7 separate regions of the Homo sapiens genome follow, and all the other regions are linked to region 5. The links are contacts of gene promoters, found by promoter capture Hi-C in blood cells and fetal thymus (Javierre and others, 2016). All regions are on one chromosome and are shown on one strand. The core of a region is centred on a gene start or on the middle of the fragment in contact, and the rest is flanking DNA. Distances in the headings are between cores, read along the strand shown.

What was found. Contacts are between HindIII fragments. The CHiCAGO score rates a contact against its expected background, and 5 or more counts as called.
Region 1: a fragment that was not itself captured here is called in contact with the fragment with the promoter of CCKAR in region 5 in 1 of 17 cell types (fetal thymus); the score reaches 5.5 in fetal thymus.
Region 2: a contact is called between a fragment that was not itself captured here and the fragment with the promoter of CCKAR in region 5, in 2 of 17 cell types (neutrophils and fetal thymus). The highest score is 6.5, in neutrophils.
Region 3: a contact is called between a fragment that was not itself captured here and the fragment with the promoter of CCKAR in region 5, in 1 of 17 cell types (naive B cells). The highest score is 5.4, in naive B cells.
Region 4: a contact is called between a fragment that was not itself captured here and the fragment with the promoter of CCKAR in region 5, in 2 of 17 cell types (neutrophils and activated CD4 T cells). The highest score is 8.4, in neutrophils.
Region 6: a contact is called between a fragment that was not itself captured here and the fragment with the promoter of CCKAR in region 5, in 1 of 17 cell types (neutrophils). The highest score is 5.8, in neutrophils.
Region 7: a fragment that was not itself captured here is called in contact with the fragment with the promoter of CCKAR in region 5 in 1 of 17 cell types (fetal thymus); the score reaches 5.1 in fetal thymus.

Annotation. Positions count from the first base shown.
Region 1 is chr4:26,774,693-26,777,524 of GRCh38, forward strand. It overlaps a transcript of TBC1D19 not described here. Among named protein-coding and RNA genes, the nearest start is that of STIM2-AS1, 84 kb to the right of the region's middle. The HindIII fragment of the contact is 242 bases long and covers 1,335-1,576 here.
Region 2 is chr4:26,981,070-26,983,999 of GRCh38, forward strand. The region is part of intron 3 of STIM2 (stromal interaction molecule 2); the gene reads left to right. Among named protein-coding and RNA genes, the nearest start is that of STIM2, 120 kb to the left of the region's middle. The HindIII fragment of the contact is 3,163 bases long and covers 1-2,930 here.
Region 3 is chr4:26,965,148-26,968,159 of GRCh38, forward strand. All of the region lies in intron 3 of STIM2 (stromal interaction molecule 2), which reads left to right. Among named protein-coding and RNA genes, the nearest start is that of STIM2, 110 kb to the left of the region's middle. The HindIII fragment of the contact is 873 bases long and covers 838-1,710 here.
Region 4 is chr4:26,015,004-26,018,156 of GRCh38, forward strand. No RefSeq gene overlaps it. Among named protein-coding and RNA genes, the nearest start is that of LINC02357, 54 kb to the right of the region's middle. The HindIII fragment of the contact is 3,593 bases long and covers 1-3,153 here.
Region 5 is chr4:26,489,225-26,492,382 of GRCh38, forward strand. CCKAR (cholecystokinin A receptor) reads right to left here and starts at 1,260. Exons shown (of 5, transcript NM_000730.3): 1 at 932-1,260; 2 at 9-260. The coding sequence starts at 1,043. The HindIII fragment of the contact is 9,380 bases long and covers 1-3,158 here.
Region 6 is chr4:25,999,088-26,001,948 of GRCh38, forward strand. No RefSeq gene overlaps it. Among named protein-coding and RNA genes, the nearest start is that of LINC02357, 70 kb to the right of the region's middle. The HindIII fragment of the contact is 670 bases long and covers 1,023-1,692 here.
Region 7 is chr4:26,746,817-26,749,785 of GRCh38, forward strand. It overlaps TBC1D19 (TBC1 domain family member 19), which reads left to right. Exons shown (of 21, transcript NM_018317.4): 19 at 1,595-1,710. Among named protein-coding and RNA genes, the nearest start is that of STIM2-AS1, 110 kb to the right of the region's middle. The HindIII fragment of the contact is 1,990 bases long and covers 579-2,568 here.

The DNA of each region.
Region 1 (2,832 bases), core at 206-2,705, 290 kb after region 5:
TTGTAGATTATCTAATATTTTCTACATAAACGATAATATTGTCTGCTGATAAAGGCAGTTTTACTGCTTCCTTTCCCATATCAATATCTTTTATTTTTTTCTTGTCTGTTTGCATTGCTAAAAGTTCCAAGAAAACATTGAGTAGACATTGTAAGAGTGATATCCCTCACAAGTTCTTAATCTAAGAAGGAAAGCACTTATTCTGTCTCCATTACATATGAGCAGCAGGCTTCAGCCTTTTGTAAGGTTAAGGAATTTCCTTTCTATTCCAAGTTTGCTGAGAGTTTTTTTATTAGGAACTAAGGTTGAATTTTGTAAAAATGACTTTTCTGTATCCATTGAGAATAACCATATAAGTTTTCTCTTTTCGTATGTTAGTATTGAGAACTGGTAAATTGCATTTTAATAATTTAGGGCAGTACTGCTATGATTTGAAAGCTTGTACCCTCCAAAACTCATGTTGAAATTTAATTGCCAGGCCAGATGCAGTGGCTTACACCTGTAATCCCAGCACTTTGGAAGGCTAAGGCTGGAGAAACACTTGAGCCCAGGAGTTTGAGACCAGCCTGGGCAACATAGTGAGACCCTGTCTCTACAAAACATTTTTAAAAATTAACCAGATATAGTGGCACACGCCTATGGTCCTAGCTACTCAGGAGGCTAAAGTGGGAAGATCACTTGAGTCCAGGAAGTGGAGACTGCAGTGAGCTGTGATTGTGTTACCACACTCCAGCCTGGGCAACAGAGCGAGACTCTGTCTCAAAAGAAAGAAACAAAGAAATTTAATTGCCAATATAATGGTATGGGAGGTGGGGACTTTAAGAGATGATTAGGCTATGAGGGCTCCAGCTTCATGTGTGCCTTACTAAAAGGGCTTTCAGGGTGGCTACTCTTTGCCCTTCCACCATCAGATGACACAGCAAAAAGGTCCTCTCCAAATGCCAACACCTTGATATTGGATTTCCCAGCCTCCAGAACTATAACTTTCTGTTCTTTATAAATTACCCAGTCTCAGGTATCCTGTTATAGCAGAACAACATGGACTAAGACAAATTCATACAGGAAAGCCAGGATTTGCTTGATCCTGACAAATAAAGGGCTTTCCCTTTATTTGTCAGTTTTCAAGGCAATGAGTTGGTATCTTATTATTCTTCAAAGGTGGTCAGTTTTTTTTTAATATCATTGTGAACTTATGTAGTTAAATGTGATATGTTATGGGTTTCATTCCCATGCAGTTTTTATCCTTATTGAGGTTCAAGGTTTCCCATCTTCAGTCAGTGACAGCCACTTCAAGGAGTAAAGTTTTTTTTGTCATGACTCTAGTCATCATTGAAAGCTTACTTGCCATCAGGTATGACAAGATGTTCCAAGTTTATCTTATACACTTTCTACCCAAAACCTGAAATTAGTCAATTCTCAAAGAAGTCATGGTATCTTTTAGTAGTAAACAATATTTTAAGGCCACAATCTGATCGTTAGGTCTAATCATTGCTAGTAGGTTGGTCATTGTTATTAGGCCTTTTCAGGTGCTCAGAGGTAATTTCAAATTCAAATACAGACTTTGTATTTTTACTTAAGCTTTCATATATATATAATTTTTTTCTGCATACTAATAATAGTTTTCAAGAATACAAGAGGTGATGGGATAAAATATCTATAATCATTCATTTGCTTTATCCAACAATTCACATATAATAGTCTTAAGATAACAAAACTCACCCCAACAGAAGAGTTTGTAAATGTCTGTATTATATGTTTTTCCCAATTTTGCACTATGTCTACATTGTCAGAGCATATAGCCAGAGCAGACTATATCCTAGTCCATTTAACCCCTTAGTCTTAGTTCTACAAGTAATTATATTGAATACCCACCATCTGTACTTGTGTCAATGTCATCCTAGTCATTTTGGTTGTCTGAAGCTTGTTTTCTATTTAGATACCTCAAGAAGGGCTCATGGGAGAAAATAATCTCTTAAGTTTATATGTTGATAAGAGCTTGTATGTACTCTTTTTCTTGAAAGTAAGTTTAGTTACATGTAAAATGCTTGGCTCACATTTTCTTTCCTTGTGTATCTTAAATATGTTATTCTGTTTTTCTCTGGCTTAAAATTAGATGGTCATCTAATTTTCTTTCCCTTATAAATCACTTGCAGTTTTTGCCTAGATTTTGTAAGGATTTTTTTCCTTTTCATTAAGCCAAGTAATAACTAATATATATCTTTCTGTTTGTTGTTTTGTGTTCACATTTTGAAGTTCATCGTGTGCTCTTTCAATATGTAATTTCAAATTTTTTTATTTCAAGAACGTTTTGTTGAATTATAGCTTGTAGAACTATAGTTGCAGAATTTATTTTATTTCCTTGTTTTGGTGTTATTCTACAGGAAACGCTGGGACAGGCCACTTTATATCTTTACATAGCTCTATTAGGCATCTCTCTCTCTTCTTTTTTTTTTTTTTTTTTTACGGAGTTTCACTCTTGTTGCCCAGGATGGAGTGCAATGGTGCAATCTTGGCTCACTGCAACCTCTGCCTCCTGGGTTCAAGCGATTCTCCTGTCTCAGCCTCCTGAGTAGCTGGGATTACAGGTGCCCGCCACCATGCCCCACTAATGTTTGTATTTTTAGTGGAGATGGGGTTTCATCATATTGGTCAGGTTGGTCTCGAACTCCTGACCTGAGGTGATCTGCCCACCTTGGCCTCCCAAAGTGCTGAGGTTACAGGCGTGAGCCACCGCACTCTGCCTGTTTGTTTGGTTTTGTTTGTTTAGACAGAGTCTCTCTCTGTCCCTCAGGCTGGAGTGCAGTGGCATAATCTTGGCTCACTGTAACCTCC
Region 2 (2,930 bases), core at 170-2,669, 490 kb after region 5:
GATAGACAAAATCCAAAAGTGAGTAAGAATGCAGAGCTTGACTGCCTGTATTCAAGTCTCTACATAACACTTACTAGATTTGTGACATCGGACAGGACAAATAACTTGATCTCTCTGTCCCTAACTTTCCCTATTTGTGAAATCTCGCTAATAAGTACCCACCCCCCACCTTAGAGGGTTGTGCTGAGGATTAAATGAGTCAACAAGTATATAGAGTTTAGAACAGTATTTGATAGCTAATAAAGCCTAATGTTTGCTGTTATTAATATTGTTAAAAGGCTACCATACTTTCTTGGAGAAAATCACAAGCTACAAAGTAATGGAGAAGCTCGCAATTAGTAGAATTCTCTACCTGCATAATTGAAGAAGAACTGAAAGATTTCTTTTTTAAATTTTAATTTCTTAATTGAAAGTGATTTCAAATTTAGAGAAAAGTTGCAGGACCAGAGCAAATAACTCCCATATACACTGTGTCTAGATACCCTCCGCTCCCCTTCCAGTGCCACCATTTGCCCTAATAATGGCCTTTTATAGCCAAAGGATGCAGGGTGATGCATTGTACCCGGTTGTCCTATCTCTCTAGTTGTCTTCAGTATGGAAAAATTCCATAATACTGCCTGGACTTTTACGACGTTGGCCAGTAATCTTCAAAAACATCACTTTTGTAGTAAATAACTAAATTAGGATTTGTTTGATATTTTTACATTGTTAGACCCAGGTTATGCATTTTGGGCTGGACTATCACAGGAGTGATTCTTTTTATTATATCATTTTGGGTGGCACTTGGTATCATTTGCCTTATTACAAATGGTGTTATCTTTGTCATTTGATGAATATAGTGTCTGCTGTGTTTCCATAACTATAAAGGTATTTACCCCACACCGAACAAATGTGTAATTCTTTTTTTTTTTTGGTGGAGAGATACTTGAAGACTATTTAAAATCACATTCCTCATTTCACTTTTTAGTTCTAGCATCTATAAATTTTTTTTGCCTGACTTAATTATTGCTCACATGGTTGCTAAATGGTAACTTTTTGAATTCCATCATTCCTTCTACTTACTAGTTGGCGTTCTACTATAAGGAAGAGAATTAAACAGAGTGTATATCAACATCTTGTCCGTGAAGATGCTGGGAGATAACAAAGACATATTTTGAAACTAGGAATTTGAGAAAGACTGATTCTCAAAAACTTATGAATGCTTTGAAGATTGATCTTCTGCATTTATTCATTTATATCCTATTTTATTCAGTCAGTTTTGAGTTTGTTACTATTATGATTTTGATGCTCAAATTGTCCCAAATTTAGTTAATGGGAGGCCTTTCTAACTGGCTTCTATATCTTTTTATATCCTTTCTAACTGGCTTCTATATTCTTTAAAATATCCTTTTCTAACTGGCTTCTATATCCTTCTGTATCCTCTTTTAAGGATTAAGGATATTCTTTATTCTTTTATATATCCTTCTATATCCATCATTTTTTGAGCTCTTCCCTACTTATTGGCACAAAAAGTATCCAGGCTCATTGTGTTATGTCTTAACCTCAATCCTGGAAACAGCCATTTCTCCAAGGAACCCTGGTTATTTTTAGCTGAATTGCTGTTTAGAAACCAAGATTTGGGCACTAGGTATGTTCATTGCTACTGAGATATTGTTGTTCCCAGACCTCAGTGGACAGAGTTAAGAAACATGCACACCTTATATTTCTTTTTTTTTATACTGAAAATCATGAATTCACACTGATACCTGATAAACTCCAATTTCAGTCCAACACTTTGGGTTAATTCTAGCTTAACTCCTTTTTCTATTTGTACTTCACTGACAGTGAAAACTTGACTCTGTTATCTTAATATGTTTACGTAGTTGCTCAGTCCCTCTGTAGGTAGCCAGGGTCCTGACCCCACGGGCTGCTACCTCTTTCAGGGGCCTGCCTTATGTGGGCCTCGGCCTTCACAAGGCTGCCACCCTGTTGTCCGCATTATAGAGATACTAGCTGCTGTTAACCTGTCTCATCCCCATGTGGGACCAGATTACTTCTGGGTAATTGAAAGACACTGAAATGAATATGAAAATTGAAAAAAAACTTGGGAGAAAAATCGGAATGCACACTATCCAGTAACTTGGTGGAAATGAATCAGTCTTTTTGAGTTTGATGACTGAAGCACTTTATTCACATTTTGCCTTTCTCATATGATTCTCTGGCTGTTGACAAAGGTCCCCTATGAATGGGGAGCCTATTTAGTAATTTAATCCTTTAACCATTGTGTCAGTACTACAATTAAACAAACTTTTCCTAAAAGTTATTTTTGCCACTGATAATATTAGTTAAACCACTGCTATGTATACCAGCTGAAGGCCAAGTTGGAAAATGTTATATACCAGGTAAATGTAGCTTAATAATATTTGTGAATTATTAGATTTTTAAATGCTAAATGCACTAAGAAAAATCATATATAATTGAAGATCAAACAAATTTCTGAGTACAGTTGCCTTGAAAATATTTCTACCATTGGAATTGGCTAATTTTTCTATTATTGAAGAAATCAAGGTTTACAAGTTCTGAATGTATTGTGTCTTCTTACCTGGAAGTTGTTTGGCAACTAGAGTGAAAACTCAATTTTTAGCTGGCCTTTGATATAATAAAGAAGGTATTTATTAACTAGGCTTTTGTATTCATTTTTTGTTGAACTCCCTCTAAAAGTTAATGCATTTCTTACATCATGCTTTCTGGTAGTCTTGGTAATAACTCCTTGATTCTGATGTTTTATTTATTTAATCCAGTGCCCAAAGTAATTACTGTGCAGTCAGTAAATATTTGCTGCATGAAGGAATTCCAAGTTGCCTACAGAAAATCTTTTGAAGAAACTTTCAAATTCTAAGAGAAAAAAGTGTTAATAGCAGAAAATTAAAGCAAACAGTTGTAAAGCTATA
Region 3 (3,012 bases), core at 24-2,523, 480 kb after region 5:
TTCACAGAAAGCACCTTATGCAAGGGAAGGTCCATTCTTGAGGTAGAGTGTAGTTTCAGAGTAACAGATGTCATCATTTCTACCACTAACAAAAGGTCTTTAATAGTCCGGGTTTCTTCTGTGAAGAGAATAGGTGACACCAGTATGTTGCTCATTCACTCTGTCAACCAACATTTAAGGGAGTTTAACATGGGTTTGCTAGAAAAATAGTGTCTCTCTTGATTAATTTACAAATTTGGCAAACATTGTTTTGTATTAATCATTAGTTATAATTGATTTTTGTACTTCATACAGAGTTTGCTCCCTTTTCCCTTTATTATCAAATAACTTTCTTTTATAAAATTATCCAAATGAGTTCAGAGCACTCACAGTAAGTTGCTGATTGCTCTTAATCATGATCTTATGTTAGCATTTTAGTGTCTCTATTCCCTTCACTTCAAATCTACCCATCAGGGCTGTTTTGGTTTTATTAATTTTCTTCTTTTTCTCTTTCTCTTTTTGTTTTATTATTCTCAGTTCTTCCTCTTTCACTTAAGTACACTTGTGTTTTGGAGATTTTGGATCATTGCATATGCTGATTTGCTGGGATTAATTCTGTCTTTTTAGTTTGTGGAAGATACTTTGAGACAATCCTGCCTTCTTTACATAGATTGTTCTTGGTTTTATTCTGAAATAGAGACCCCCTCTCAGAAGAAGATGCAGAGACCACTACCTATTACATCTCTCTGTCCTGTAGAAAACTTGACAATTCTATTCTGTAGGAACACGTGAAATAAATGTTTTGAGCCTTGTTTTTTCTCACATAACAGGTTTTCCAGTATATAATTCAACATGTGAAGCTTTTCTTATGATTTAAGGAGGTACTATTCTAAGATTGTTTGTGAGTTTGCCTTATTATGGTTTTCTATACACCTGAATTCTACATTTCTCCTCTGCTATGTTCACAGACTCAAGGGATACCTCAAGGTTGGAGTACAGTAAAAGAACCTTCTGCAGAAGGTAAAAATGAGGGCTGTCCACTTTTCACTGTGATGGACTATCTAGGAAACAGTAGCCTTTTTTGGACATCATATTGTCCTTTCTACCCTTTTCCTAGTAGTTGGAAATCAGTTGCATATGAATGTGTGTTACATTTTCCTTTATCCATCTTTGTTTTGGGAAAGAGGTGGGAAGGAGTGACTCAGGAAATAGTTTTAGATTTTGAAATGTATGTTATTGCAGGAGAGTCACTATATTATATTCTACTTTATGTAGAACAAATATTTTATTTGCTGCTTTTGAATAAAGGACTTGTTTGTTGAGAATGACATTGTCTTCAAAGATGGTCAGTTAACTTTTGTTTCTTTCTCAGACAAGTCTTATGCTTACTTAAGTCTTTTTCCCCCCATTTAACTGAATGTTACTTAGCATTTTAATAGCGACTGTAATAGAAATAATGTAAATTACAAATATTAATACAATGAAAACTAAAACTTTCCAAGGTATTAGCCAGCCTTTTGAATTTGAATATGACCTTTGCTCTTTCTAAAAATTCTAAACATTTCTATGATTCTGATATGTATATTTATGTATATATTACATATATAAATGTATAGCTCAGAGGAAATGAATGATAAAAATAGAATAAATCACTTAGCATGTTTTTATATCTTATAATTAAAAACCGTTTCAATCTCTGGATGGTTACTCTGCATAGAATAGAACAAATAAAGCTTATATCTTTCTATCTTTCTCATCTCATCTGGTTTTATATTTTAAAGATAAGAACCTCTTCAATAAAAGGTCCTCAGTAAGCATTCTTCTAACCCTTGGATAATCTTCTGTTTCTCCCTCTCTTTGCATCGACATTAATTCTTTCAGGATGTTGAAAATAATAGACCATTTAGATACTTTTGATTTCAGTGTTTTAATCAGATAATTACTTAATAGTTTGAAATTAAGAATCTATATCAGTCTGACAAAATGAAACAGAATGGCACTTTTCATAGAGGGAAATTTATCGTTTTTATTTCCAGCAACTTTTCTTACCAAGTAATCAGCTAAAAAAATGCAAAACAGGTGTTTATCACTGGGAGATTATAGTTGCATAAGGGCAATGTTCTAAAAGCAAACAAAGAGATTTGTGATTCACTCATGTAAAGGTATAATAATTGAAGTCATATAAATTCAGAGTTCACTAAAAGAAGGAAAGGGAGAGAGTAGCCTTGGGGAAGACTGGCATTAAGGCAAAGGCAAAGAACTGATGAATGAAATCAGTAATGGCCATCAGAGACATGGAGGGAGAATCAGGAAGGCACAGTGTCATGAGCATCTAGAGAGGGGAGTGTTTTCAGGAAGGGATAGACGGTAATATAGTAGGGCGCATAGACTTGCCATATTGCAAAGTGTCTGCCAAGAGTCCTCCTGAATAATTCTTCATTTAGGTCTCAGTAATAAGAATAGATGTACTGCTGAGCAGACATTTTGTGTTTATATTGTGAATCCTGTGACTGATTTTGCTTCCTTCTTTGTCTGCCTTTTTTAACTGTTATTAAGGATCTCATATATTTTGTAAGTGTCTTTACCTCAGCTTCATTTTATCTTCCTGGTCCAGCGACATCTTTCATCTTTTATTCTCTTTGCATTGTATGCATCTTCGTAAGTGATTTCTTCCCTCCACTTTCCTCTTCCCCCTCCCCCCTCCTCCAACAGTGGGGGTTAGAGAGAGGAAAGATGAAAAGTGGCTAGTAGCTTGACACGAGAAATATGATATACGTGAAAAAACCCATTAGATTTGGCAAGAATAAAATCATTATTAACAGGCAGGAAGATCAGTAGTTTGAGACTAGCCTGGCCAACAAAGTGAGACTCCATCTCAACAAAAAATGAAAAAAATTCGCCAGTCTTGGTAGTATGCACCTGTGGTCCCTGCTACACAGGAGGCTGAGGCAGGAGGATCACGTGTACTCAGGAGGTCAAGGCTGCAGTGAGCCATGTTTGTGCCACTGCACTACAGCCTGGATGACAGACTGA
Region 4 (3,153 bases), core at 491-2,990, 470 kb before region 5:
ATAACTTAGCGGAGATCATCCCTTCCTGGGGTGGGAGTCTTAGTGGCAGTTACCAGCAGAAAAGCTAATGGGGTAACCCGAGAAATCTTCCTGGAGGAGGAGATGTTGGCTGAATCATCGATCAGCTCATATCACTGAGCCAAATGCTTGTCATTGGCTTTGGGGGGGCAACGTAGGGCCCACAGTTCCCCTCATCATCCTCAGAGTTGACACTCCCCAGTGCCTCACAGAGATGATTTCAGGGTTCAGAAATTCTGACTCCCAACCCCCTTGGGTCCACTTCCCCTCTTATCATGCAGGCCATCTCCCCGGTCTTGGCTTACCCTGTGACCACACTGCATTCTCCTTCCACATGCCCTGACACACGCTCTGAAATGCCAGGGTTCTCATGAGTCCAGCCTGCCAGGAGCAAGGCTTGCCAAAGCTGTGTCCCAGCCAAGCGGGTGGCCTGCGGAGTGAGCCATAGGACTGCATTCAGCCCAGTTCCAAGCTGGAAGGTGAGGGCAGCCTCCCAACTATTTCTTCCAACCTCAGAAACGATTCAGTGCTGGCAGTTCACACGAGGTCCCCCTGACATCTCCAGTCAGGAATGCAACTTGCTGTGGATTCTGAGGCAAAGAGAAGACCATTAGGAAGGAGGGAAGTCATTAGCAGATGGGATGACCGGCATGCATGAGAGACACATCTGCCTTTCCCTGAGGTGCCCAGGGGCTTGTGTGTGGAGCCTTCTGGGACTCTCTGACCACTTGAGACCCAGAAGATCAAAGGTCTGGTAGCCACGGCCCGCTTTGAATCCATAATTCCTTGCCTCTCACAAATGAAGGGAAGAAAAGTTGTCAGGAGGCAAAGCTGTAGCTAGCAGTTTGGCCAACATGCATGGATTGTAAACATTATTTAGTAAAAGCCTTCAAGGATGGAAGAGAGGAGTCAGGAACTCTATTCTTGACCATCTCAAAGCACTCTTGACCTCAAGGGAACTCCTGCTGCAGACTCCCTGCCCTTAACCTTCAGTCCTGCTCCATACATTTTTGTATCCTCTAACACGCCCCTGATGTGGCCTGGCTGACAATTTCTGCTGGCTGCTACCCCCCAAACCAGGGCTGGCTTGGCTCAATACACAGAGGGCACTCTGGGTTCTAGAGCATGTATTGGCTGGATATATAGTATATATAGTGATCCCACTGGTGGGTAGAGGGTACTCGAGCAGTGCTTCTCAAACTTTCATGTGCCTAGATTTATCTGGGGCTCTTGTTGAAGTGCAGATTCTGATTGAGTAATTTTGGGTGGGCCCAAGATTCTGCCCTTCTAGGAAGCCCACAGTTGAGGTCAATACTTCCAGTCCACGACTATACTTGGAAAAAGAAAGTGCTAGAAGGCTCAGCAGCTACTGCTGTGAGATCAGGACTTGCAATTCTTGTACAGAGGTCCAAATAGCACCCTCATTAAAAAGACCAGATGCCTCCCTGCCCTCATAGCTGCAGTCACTTAGCTCCCACCAGAAGGCCCAACTCCTCCCCAAACTCAGGTACCCAATATCTTGAGAGATACAAAGGGGCTGTGGGGGTTGTTATTCCCCCTCTATCCACTTCACCCTCCTATTCTCAGTGTTAGATTCTCCTCTACAACCTCCCAGCTTCCTGGGTTGACCAGCCTCTCTGCTTCACCCTCCAGTGCCAGGCCACAACCTGCCTGCTGGTGCTATGGGATGAATGTGCATCCCCCAAAGTCATATATTGAAGCTCTAATCCCCAATGACTGTGATGATGTTAAAAGGTGGGGTCTTTGGGAGGTAATTAGGTTTACATGAAGTCATGAGAGTGGAACCCCTATTCTGAAATTAGTGCCCTTATAAGAAAAGAAGGAGACCTTCTCTCTCTGACATGTGAGGACACAGCAAGAAGGTGGTCATCTGCAAGCCAGAAAGAGAGTCCTTACCAGAAAACTGAATCAGCAGGCACCTTGATCTTGGACTTCCCAGCCTCCAGAATTGTGAGAAACTAATGTTTGTTGTTTAAGCCACACAGTCTATGGTATTCTGTTATAGCAGGCTGAGCTGACTAGGATACTTGGAGTGCCTGGTCCCTTCATGGGCAGCACTAATTAATGAACACAGAGTTCTCCTCATTCCTGCAAGACTACCAGTGCCTCCTTTTCTGGCCCCGGCTAGAAAGAGCAATCTCTGCCTTTTCCATGCTGCTACTATTACCTGGAACATATAACCATAATATTAGTCACGGTGTGATTGCGATTCTGCATCTACATAATTGTCACTTCTGCTATCCTTGAGGGAGGAAATAATAATGCAGAGCTGAGCACATAATGTATATTCATTGAATCAATGATGCTGTTATTCCTGGTCCCTCTTCCTTGGGAGGCCCCTCCCTCAAATCCTTGGAGACAGTCACTATGTCTATCCTGTAGGGGACTTTTCTGGTTTAATAGCTCCAGTTTCTCCAACCCCAACCAACTTCTCCATTTAGAAGTGTTTAAGACACTAATTCTCAAGTTTGGCTGCTTGTTGAAATTAACAGGGGAGTTTTAAAAATACTGAGTCTAACCCTCAGAGATTCTGATTTATTTGGTTTGGAGTGTGACCTGGCCATCGGGATTTTTTTTAAAAAACCCAATGCTGCTAATATGCAGCTAGGTTTGAGAGCCACTTGGAGTCAGGAATTTTAGGTTCCTACCCAGCACTTTAGTCTCCAGACAGCAATGCTGTCCGGCCTGTTCTAATCATAGGTCCCCCAGTGTGAGTGAACAAGCTCTTACCTTGATCTTGAAACTAGTTCTTTCTATGAAGAGAAGGCACAGGGCTACACTAGCAAGGGACCAGAGGCTGGCATGAGACAGACCCACCATTTAAATAGGCATGACTCGAAGCAATTGTCTCCACCTCTCTAAGCCTTCGTTTCCTTACCAATAAAATGGGATCATGGTGTAGTCAGTTTCTACTGGATAACAAACCACCCCAAAACTTAGTGGCTGCGTTAGTCCATTTTCACACTGCTGATAAAGACATACCCAAGACTGGGCAATTTACAAAAGAAAGAGGTTTAATTGGACTTACACTTCCACATGGCTGGGGAAGCCTCACAATCATGGTGGAAGGCAAGGAAGAGCAAGTCACGTCTTACGTGGATGGCAGCAGGCAAA
Region 5 (3,158 bases), core at 10-2,509:
CAACTTACCCATGAAGTAGGTGGTGGTCTTGCAAACGGCGCTCCCGAAGATGAAATCCTTGAGCAGATTGGGGATGAGGTTGAACGGCATGCAGAAGAGACAGAGCATGAGGTCGCTGACAGCCAGGGAGAGGAGGAAGATGTTGGTGACCGTCCGCATCCGCTTGTTCCGAATCAGCACGGTGATGACCAGCGTGTTTCCCAGCACGCTGAGCAGGAATATCAAGGAGTACAAGAGAATCTGCACCGCTGGCTGCCACTCTGCAGAGAGAAACAGGAGCAAGACGGAGGGATGGAGGTGATGACAGCAGAATGCTAAAACCGAAGCCAAGGGTGAATTCCTGCCGATTTTCCCCCCACCGGGGTGTACATCACTGGACCCACGATTCCTGTCCTGGCAACATTTTGCGGAAACAAATTGAGGAAAGCAGAGACTGAATTATTTTCTTTTTAGAAGGTTGGTTTGTTAAAGGATCACTCAGGGAACCACTTTTTCTTAAGAACAAAGCTCCTCAAGTGAACAGTGATCACTTTCTTTCCTGGCTGCTAAGCATTATTTCACTTTAATCACTTCATGCTGGGTTTCCCCCCAAGAAAAGAAAACAGCTGCATGGTGACAACACCTTTTCTGCTGTGCTTGTAAGTTCAGGCTTTGACACTTGTAGTCCCTCTTGCTTCACTCAGCTTTTCCTCCCCTGCTTTTGTTCCCCCAAGTCCTATTCATGAATGCCCAACTCCCCCATGGGGGACAATAAGAATATTTGACTCTATTCTGCTTTTTAATCTCTTCTCCAAACTTCTGAACATATGACTTTATCTAGCCTTGTCTCACAATGACTTGGTTATATATATTTTTTATCAGCCTTGCCTTTGCTGATTTCTCCCACAACTCAATAGTTTCCTGAATTAAAATAACAGCTTCCGACACTTACCTTTGGAAGGACGGGGCTGATCCAAGCAGAAAAGCGTCTCATTTTCGAGCCCGAGTTCACAGGGAGGAGTGATGTTGCTTCCATTCACAAGAAGGCTGTCAACCACATCCATCCTTGCCTGCTGCTTTCCACCAAGTGCTGGAGAGCTGGTGAATTGCTCACTCCCGGCTCATTCCTCTAATGACCGAAGCGTCTCGCAGATGCAACCTGCCGTGGAGGAGCAGGGAGGGAGTGATTTCCAGGTGTGGGCTTTTTCAGCCATTCCTAAAGGCGACTTGAGTTCACCTCACTCACTCCAGCATTTGTACTCCTGTTGTGGAAAAGGCAGTGAGCACAAGCCAAGCCCGCTCCACCTTCACCCCGCCCCACCTCCCCCGGCCCTTTCCTGGGCCAGTCTTAGGGCCCTGAGTACAGACAGCCTGGCTACCCGTTAACCATTCTCAGCGTGTGGCTGCTTTTTACACACATGTGTACATATGCACGGACACACACACACACACAGAGGCTTCCCCAGTACTCCTCTATATAGGAACCCGTCACCATCCCAGACATATGCAGAAGAAAGCCCAAACCGGCTGTGTGAGACAGGAACAATTAACACGGTAACAGATCCGATAATGCAGACCATCAGGCCTAAAGAACACGGAGGGACTGTGTTCTACCTCCTTATAGAAAAGCAATTAGTGCCTTTTTAGCTTTGGAACCATGCCCGGTGGTGTGTGTGTGGACAGAACTGCTGGCTGGTTGTTAAGTTGCTACTAAACACAGTGTTGTTTCTCGTGGTCTCTGCCCTTGTTAACTAGGATTGAGGCACTTTTGAACATAGGTACCTGGGTCCTTATTACAAAAGACGTTAGTGAGATTTCCTCTTCATTCATGAAGCCTTGCATTCAGCACATCTTCATTGAGAGTCAATCATTTGCCAGGCACTTTTCTAGCATGTCAGCAAATAATGAGCAGAATTATTTCAGGTAGTAAGTACTACAAAGGGAGTAAAGCAGGGAGATGTGATGTATACAAACAGATTAGGGGCTGATTTTTTGGGGGGCGGGGACAGGGTCTTGCTCTGTTCCCCAGGCTGCAGTGGAGTGGCGCGATCATGGCTCACTGCAGCCTTGCTCCCTGGCTCAAGCAATCCTCCTACCTTAGCCTCCTGAGTAGCTGGGACTACAGGCACACACCACTAAGCCCAGCTGATTTTTTTAGTTTTAGAAGAGAGGAGGTCTCGCTATGTTGCCCAGGCTGGTCTCAAGCTCCTGAGCTCAAGCAATCCTCCTGCCTTGGCCTCCCAGTGTTGGCATTACAGGCGTGAGCCACTGCACCTGGCCTGGGGCTGCTGATTTAGAAGGGGTAGTCAGGAGAGGTCTCTTAAGGAGGGGACTGTGATCTGAGACTGAACCACAAGAAGGACAAAGTCTTGTGAAGATCCCAAGACAGCTTCTCCCAGGCAAAAGGAGGAGCACTTTTAGCAGAGGTAACAGCAAGTGCAAAGGCCCTGAGGTGGGAATGAGTGTGGCCCCATTGAGGTACAAATAGATAGAAGTAGGAGTGAGTGAGAGGCAAACAGCAGGACGTGAGATCAGAGAGGGGGGCCATCTCAGGGTCCTGGGTGTTCCATGAAGCTCTGTGGTGCTGGAAAGCCCTTCAACCTCCATTGCACAGATTATGTCCTCAGTTCAGACCCTTTGGAAAGCAGACGACAATGGCTGTGAAACCTGCGTTTCTGACGCCCTGCTTGGCTGTGCTGAGACTTGGTCCATTTGCTAGATACCCGTGGGGCTCCTTGTGTACTGACAATGCTTCCACTGGCAGAGCTGCATGCTACATCTTGCTGAGTCTCTGCCAGACACAGAGGAACTAACGCATTTTTACTGTCAGTGTGGGGCTGGAAAGACAGTGGTGCCTCTTTTCTTTGAAACCATGAAGACCACATGGTTTGGGGCATTTAGTCACAGAAACAAGAAGGGGAAGGGACACTGGAGAAGCTGTGGATGTTATTGGGAGGACAGGCTTTGGCATCAGACAGACTTGGGATCAAATCCTGGCTTCACTGGTTACCTGCTAGGAAATACTGGGCAAATTAGTTTCCTTCCTTCCTTCCTTCCTTCCTTCCTTCCTTCCTTCCTTCCTTCCTTCCTTCCTTCCTTTCCTTTCCTTTCTTCCCTCCCTTCCTCCTTTCTTTCTCTCTCTCTTTCTTTCCTTTCTTCCCTCCCTCCCTCCTTTCTTT
Region 6 (2,861 bases), core at 108-2,607, 490 kb before region 5:
CAGGCCCCATCAGTCTTATTAGTCTATCCCCTCAATCATGCTGATTGCCTCAGGGATGGACAGGAGGCCTGCATTGATCCAATGAGACACAATTCTTGGAGTTTTCCAGAAGTAGAAGCAGCAGTTCCTTTTTCCTCTGGAATTGCTAAAGAATAACAACAGCAATGACAATAATACGTATCAAAGGCTTACTATAGGTGCTATTATTATCCCCCTTTTTACAGATGAGAACACTGAGGTGCAGAGAGGTTAAGAGACCTGGTGACAATCTGGAGCACTGGAGGCCACCACATAGACAGGTCTCCTCAAGGTAAAGTCAACACCTTGAAGTCAACCATGCTCAAAAGAAAGAGTTTCAAGGAGATCAAGCCCCGATGATGTCATTTGAGTCTCTGGATTCAGCTAGACCTAGGACTTTTCTATTTCTTGAGCCTGTATTGTAAGTGTCAGCCAACTTGAGTTAGGTTTTGGCACTTCGCAACTCAGAAAGGCTTGGCATGAAAAATTATGGAGGACCTTGAATTTCAGGGGTAGGGGAATGGAGAAAATAGAAAGGAACCAACAGAACTTGCCTATTGTTAAGACAGGCATTGTGCTAGAGGCTTTCCATACGCTATCTCACTTAATCATTACAACAGCATGTTTGATGAGTAATAGTCACATTTTATAGATTAGGAAAATTAGGTCATAAAGGGTTCAGTCCATTGGTTCATTCACCATATATTTTATTCTGGATCATGTACTCTACTAGATATTGAGCAGTCAAATAGCAATAATAACAATAGCTAACATTTTATTGAGAACTTACTGTGTGCCAAACACTGTTCCAAGCATTTGACATTCATTGTCTTGTTTATTCCACTGAACAACCTTGTGAAGGTAGTTATCATCATCCCTATTTTATGCATGAGGAAATTAAGGCACAGAACCATTTAGAAATGTGCTTAAGGGCAGGTGGCTGGGAAGTGGTGAAGACAGAGTGGCTTCAGGGGCCAGGACTCTGACATGATACCATGCTGCCAAGCTTCTCTCTGGAAGTTCAGGGTAGCTTGCCTCAGGTCACACAACAGCAGTCCAGGCTGGTTCACCTGACCCAAAGCAAGCTCTTTCCTCAGCATCATAATGCAATTGCACATAGTGAAGTTGGAGTTCTATTTTGAAGAGGATTGGGAGCCAACAAAAGGTTTTGGGAGGAAAATGATGTGTTCCCATCAAAATTATGCCATATTTCAAAGAAGGGATGGGTCCTTCATTGTATTTATTCTGACTACGAGACAAAAACACATCCCCATAAACACCTCCCAGAGGCCACACATTAGTGTGGTTTATACTGTGTGCCATGACATACAGAAATGGGTTTCATTTCTGTTTTTAGGGAGAAAACTTCCTGCTTGTCCTGGCACAGAACCCCTTGCAGCAGGACACACTGTTGGCCAGCATAGGAACTTGACTCTTGCATGTCTTTTCTTTTGAACTGCCAACAGCTCTTACTAACCTTATTTTGGTAACAGCTCCCTTCTTTTGTTTCAGAACTGACCCTCCTCTATTCCACATGAGTCTGTTAGGATCCCCTAACTCTGGCCAGAGGGTCACTGCCCCTGAGCTGCAGTGATGAGCTCATGGATCGGGAATGCCATTCTAGTAAGAGCAATCAGACCCTTCTGGGAGAAGAGTCTGGCACTAGAAGAGAAAAGCTTACTTTTTATTGAGAGTGAATGATGTAAACTGGAACCTGTCTGTGATCATACTCATACCCTCCTCTCCACAATCCCTAAAGTCACAGGGAAGAAGCTCATCTCTTGCAATAGGAGTAAGCCTAACATCCCAAGAAAAGCACAGCTGAGAAATGGGCAGAGAGAGAGAATATTACTGAGTTTCTGCATCCAGTCATGCTGGAGAACAATTCCATTCCATGAACTCCTAGTTTCTGGAATCAGTAAATATCCCCTTTGCTTAAATTGGCTTGACTTGAGTTTCTGTTGCTTGCAACCAAAAGAGTTCTGGCTAAGACTTGGTTTGTTACCCAGAGGCTTTATTATCTATTGTTTGTTTTTGTTTTTAGCTTTTCTCACTTTCATCTTCACAAATGGTAATAAGTTGAGAATGTGTGTGAAGATCTAACTGTAAGCTAATACTGGCTGCTGAGTTATTTGTTATGGTAAACATTTAGAAAAAAACTTAGATGGCTCATAAGGGATCATTCACCTGTACAATAACCTAGTGTCCCTAGGTCTGATGACTGTGGATAAAAAATGACATCTAGTGATGTTAATGGCTTGACTGTGGTACGCAGGGGTTCAGCTCCACCCAGAGTCCCCACGGTTTTGTCTGGGGGTCCCATGGTAATGTCTCACATAAGTTCAAGGACAGGCTCACTTGTATTTTTCAACTCTGGCTTCCTCCTTGAGACATTTCACCACTGCCCAGGGCTGTCTGGGAAAACTGCTACTCTGTGTGAAGCTGTCCTTTGGGGTGGCTTGAGCTCTGGAGTATCAGAGCTGGGCTAGGCCAATGGGGGTGGGAGGACCAGTGAAGGAAATCGCCCTGCAGTGGGCTGTGGCATCTGTGCTTTATCTTTCTCTCTTCAACAAGCTTCTGTATGTTATTTCCTCTGTTAAGAAACCCGGTGATCTGGGAGGAACCAGGCCTGGCCAGTCAAAGTACTTTCTCGCCCTGACAATGAAGACTTGCCAAGAAGTGACATGGGACCCATGCAGGAGGACAGATCCCCAGAACCGGGGAGAAAGACACTCTCTTCTTTTCACTTATGTTTCTAAGCTGGAGCTCATGGACTAAACCTATAATAAGAAAACCCAAGAGCTGTTGGTTGGCCTCTACCTTTCACCCTGTGGCCTGAGGCA
Region 7 (2,969 bases), core at 324-2,823, 260 kb after region 5:
CTCTTACTCTTTGGGGCCATTATTAAGTTAAAAAAAAAAGGGTCACTTGAACACAGGCGCTGTGATACCAGGACAGTCAACCTGATAACCAATGTGGCTTCTAAGTGACTAACATGTGGGTAGCACGTACAGCATAGATACACCTGACAAAGGGATGATTCATATCTGGAGTGGGACCGTGCGAGCTTTCACCAGGCTACTCAAAACAGCACACAATTTAAAAGTTATGGATTATTTCTGGAATTTTTCATTTAATATTTTTGGACTGTTGGTGACCACAGTTGGCTATGGGTAACTGAAACCACAGAAAGTGAAACCGTAGGAGGATGACTATACATAAATTATAGCACAATAAGCTTTATTTCTAAAAAGCTATGCTATGTTATTTCTATATTGGTGGGTGGGGATGTGTGGCACTATTCCTCAAATATGACACTATGAGAATTTGAGTAAAATGAAGCAAGCTGAAGTTAATAATTTTGACTTTAAATTCAAATGTATTTTGTAAGTTATTAAAATATCCAGTGGCCCAAAGTTTCTTTTGTATATATAAAGAGATATTCTAAAACCACCCAAAAAGCTTAGTCAATACTAGTGCCTACATGTACTTTGTTATATTAGAACAATAGTTATGCAGTATTGAGGAATTTCTGAAACTTGAGGATCTTTTTCAGTCTTAAGATAATTAATACAATGACACCAACCAAGGCAACCTCTGGGTCCTTTTCTGTCTTTTAAGAGAATAGCACAGATGTTTATTGACAAAATATGATAATTCCAGCAAACAGTTTAGCTAGTACCTGTCAGGGACAGTCAAGTGATATTAGATGCTAATAGATAATACAGAAATATGAAGAACTGGTTGATCCCTTAAGGCACCAGAGCCAAAGAGTTCATTTCCTGATTTCAGAGATAAATTGTTATTGTAACATAACCTACTTGTAAGTAGTAAGATCTCATACATCTTAGAATTGTTTTAGCAAAATGGAATTTAATTGAATTTTCTGGCTGATCTTTCAGAGTTCTATAACCTCCTAACTAAAATGAAGTGTTTGAAATCAGAAATCTATTTCTAATGTCTCATAGCTTTAAAACTATTTTTGTCCTTATACTCATACTTGTTATTTTATTTTATTCATCCTATATAGCCATTTGACTGAAATGTAGAAAATAATTTATTAAATTGAGAAAATATGCAGGCATTGAACAATCTTTCAAGTATTTTGAATAAAAATTCAAATTATTATAGATTGCCTGGAATTGTTAAGACTGTCAGAAGGTCAGCTCATTGATAGCTAAGTAGTATACACTCTGAAAAACAGAATGTAGAAATGGGTTTTATAAAAGCTGACCTCTAGAGTAAAGGAGGACCCAGCATGTGTAATTCTTCCTCTTAATACTTTAAGACCACTAATTTGAGGACTTATGGTTTCTCACCACTGCACTCTTGCAGCTTTCAAGAAAGTACTTAAGTTTTAAATGCCCAGGTGATTTCTAAGACTCTTGAATAGAATTGGTTGGGTTCTTCTGATATTGCATTTTCATGAGAAAAAATTTCAGTGGTACATTAATTTTTATTTTTCCTTGCTTATAGACTTCGCATATCATTTAAGTGGATGGTTCGAGCTTTCTCTGGATACTTAGCTACAGATCAGCTCTTGCTTTTATGGGATAGAATCCTAGGATACAACTCTCTGGAAATTCTTGCTGGTAAGAGTAAATGCTTGTTTGTAGAACACATGCTGTTTCTATAATAAGTCCCCTTTTCTTCCTAACATTCACCATCCGTAACTGGAATTTATTTGTCACTTCTAATTCATGAACAATTAATAGATATATCTGGCTTTGACGATAAGTACGAACAAAAACTGCAGTCTTGATACTTTTATGTAACTGCACAATACCAGCCTACTTCTAGTCTTTCTTCCCAGCTCCCAGGAAAGTTCATTTTCCCTTCCCTTTCCCTCTCCCCTTTTAGTCCAGCTAGGTCTCACTATCTCCCAACACCTATGAGGTCTGTGCAGCAGAGTGTAGATATACTTCCCTTCTACTCTGGACTCCCCTGGCTACCTTAGCAGTCTGTTCTATGCCCCATCTCAACACCTAAGATCCAAACTGAGGCTAAGCCTCCCTACATGGCTGAAACCTCAGCTCTTCTGTGTCTATTTATAAATGAAGTTAAAACCTTTTCCTTTTTGCTAACAGTCTCTGACTTCCTCCCTGGTGGCTGAGTTTCCCCTTTTATTCTCTCAGGCCAAAAACTATTTCATCTTTTTTTCAAAGCCACAAATTTATCTTTTATTTAATAATTAAGCAGTTCTTACAACAGATGTATGCCCAAGGCAATTATATGATTACAAAGAAGGCATATATTTCTTATTAATTATATTATTTTGCTTCTCTTGTGCACAATAGACTCAATTACTTTATTAGTGAGATTACCAGGAAATTCAAATAATAATTACAAAGTTTTCACAATAGATAGGGATCAGAAAAGTTGGCAGAATGTTTCCATACCTTAAATTGATAGCATTATAAAATCACCTCTCTGGGCTGCTGTGGAAATAAAGCTTAGTTGAAGAAGAATATGATAGGAAGATTCTCTAGGTATCATATTAACATATTCGGGTTGTTTTTTTTTTTTTTTTTTGAGACACTCTTACTCTGTGGCCCAACCTGGGGTACAGTGGCATGATCTTGGCTCACTACAACCTCCACCTCCTGGGTTAAAGAGAGTCTCCTTCCTCAGCCTCCCGAATAGCTGAGATTACAGGCGCCTGCCACCACACTCAGGTAATTTTTGTATTTTTAGTAGAGACGGGGTTTTACCATGTTGGCCAGGTTGGTCTGAAACTCCTGACCTCAAGTGATCCACCCGCCTCGGCCTCCCAGAGTGCTGGGATTACAGGTGTGAGCCTCCAGGCCCAGCCTTAACATATTCTTGAATGCTGAGAAGTCTATAGTTATAG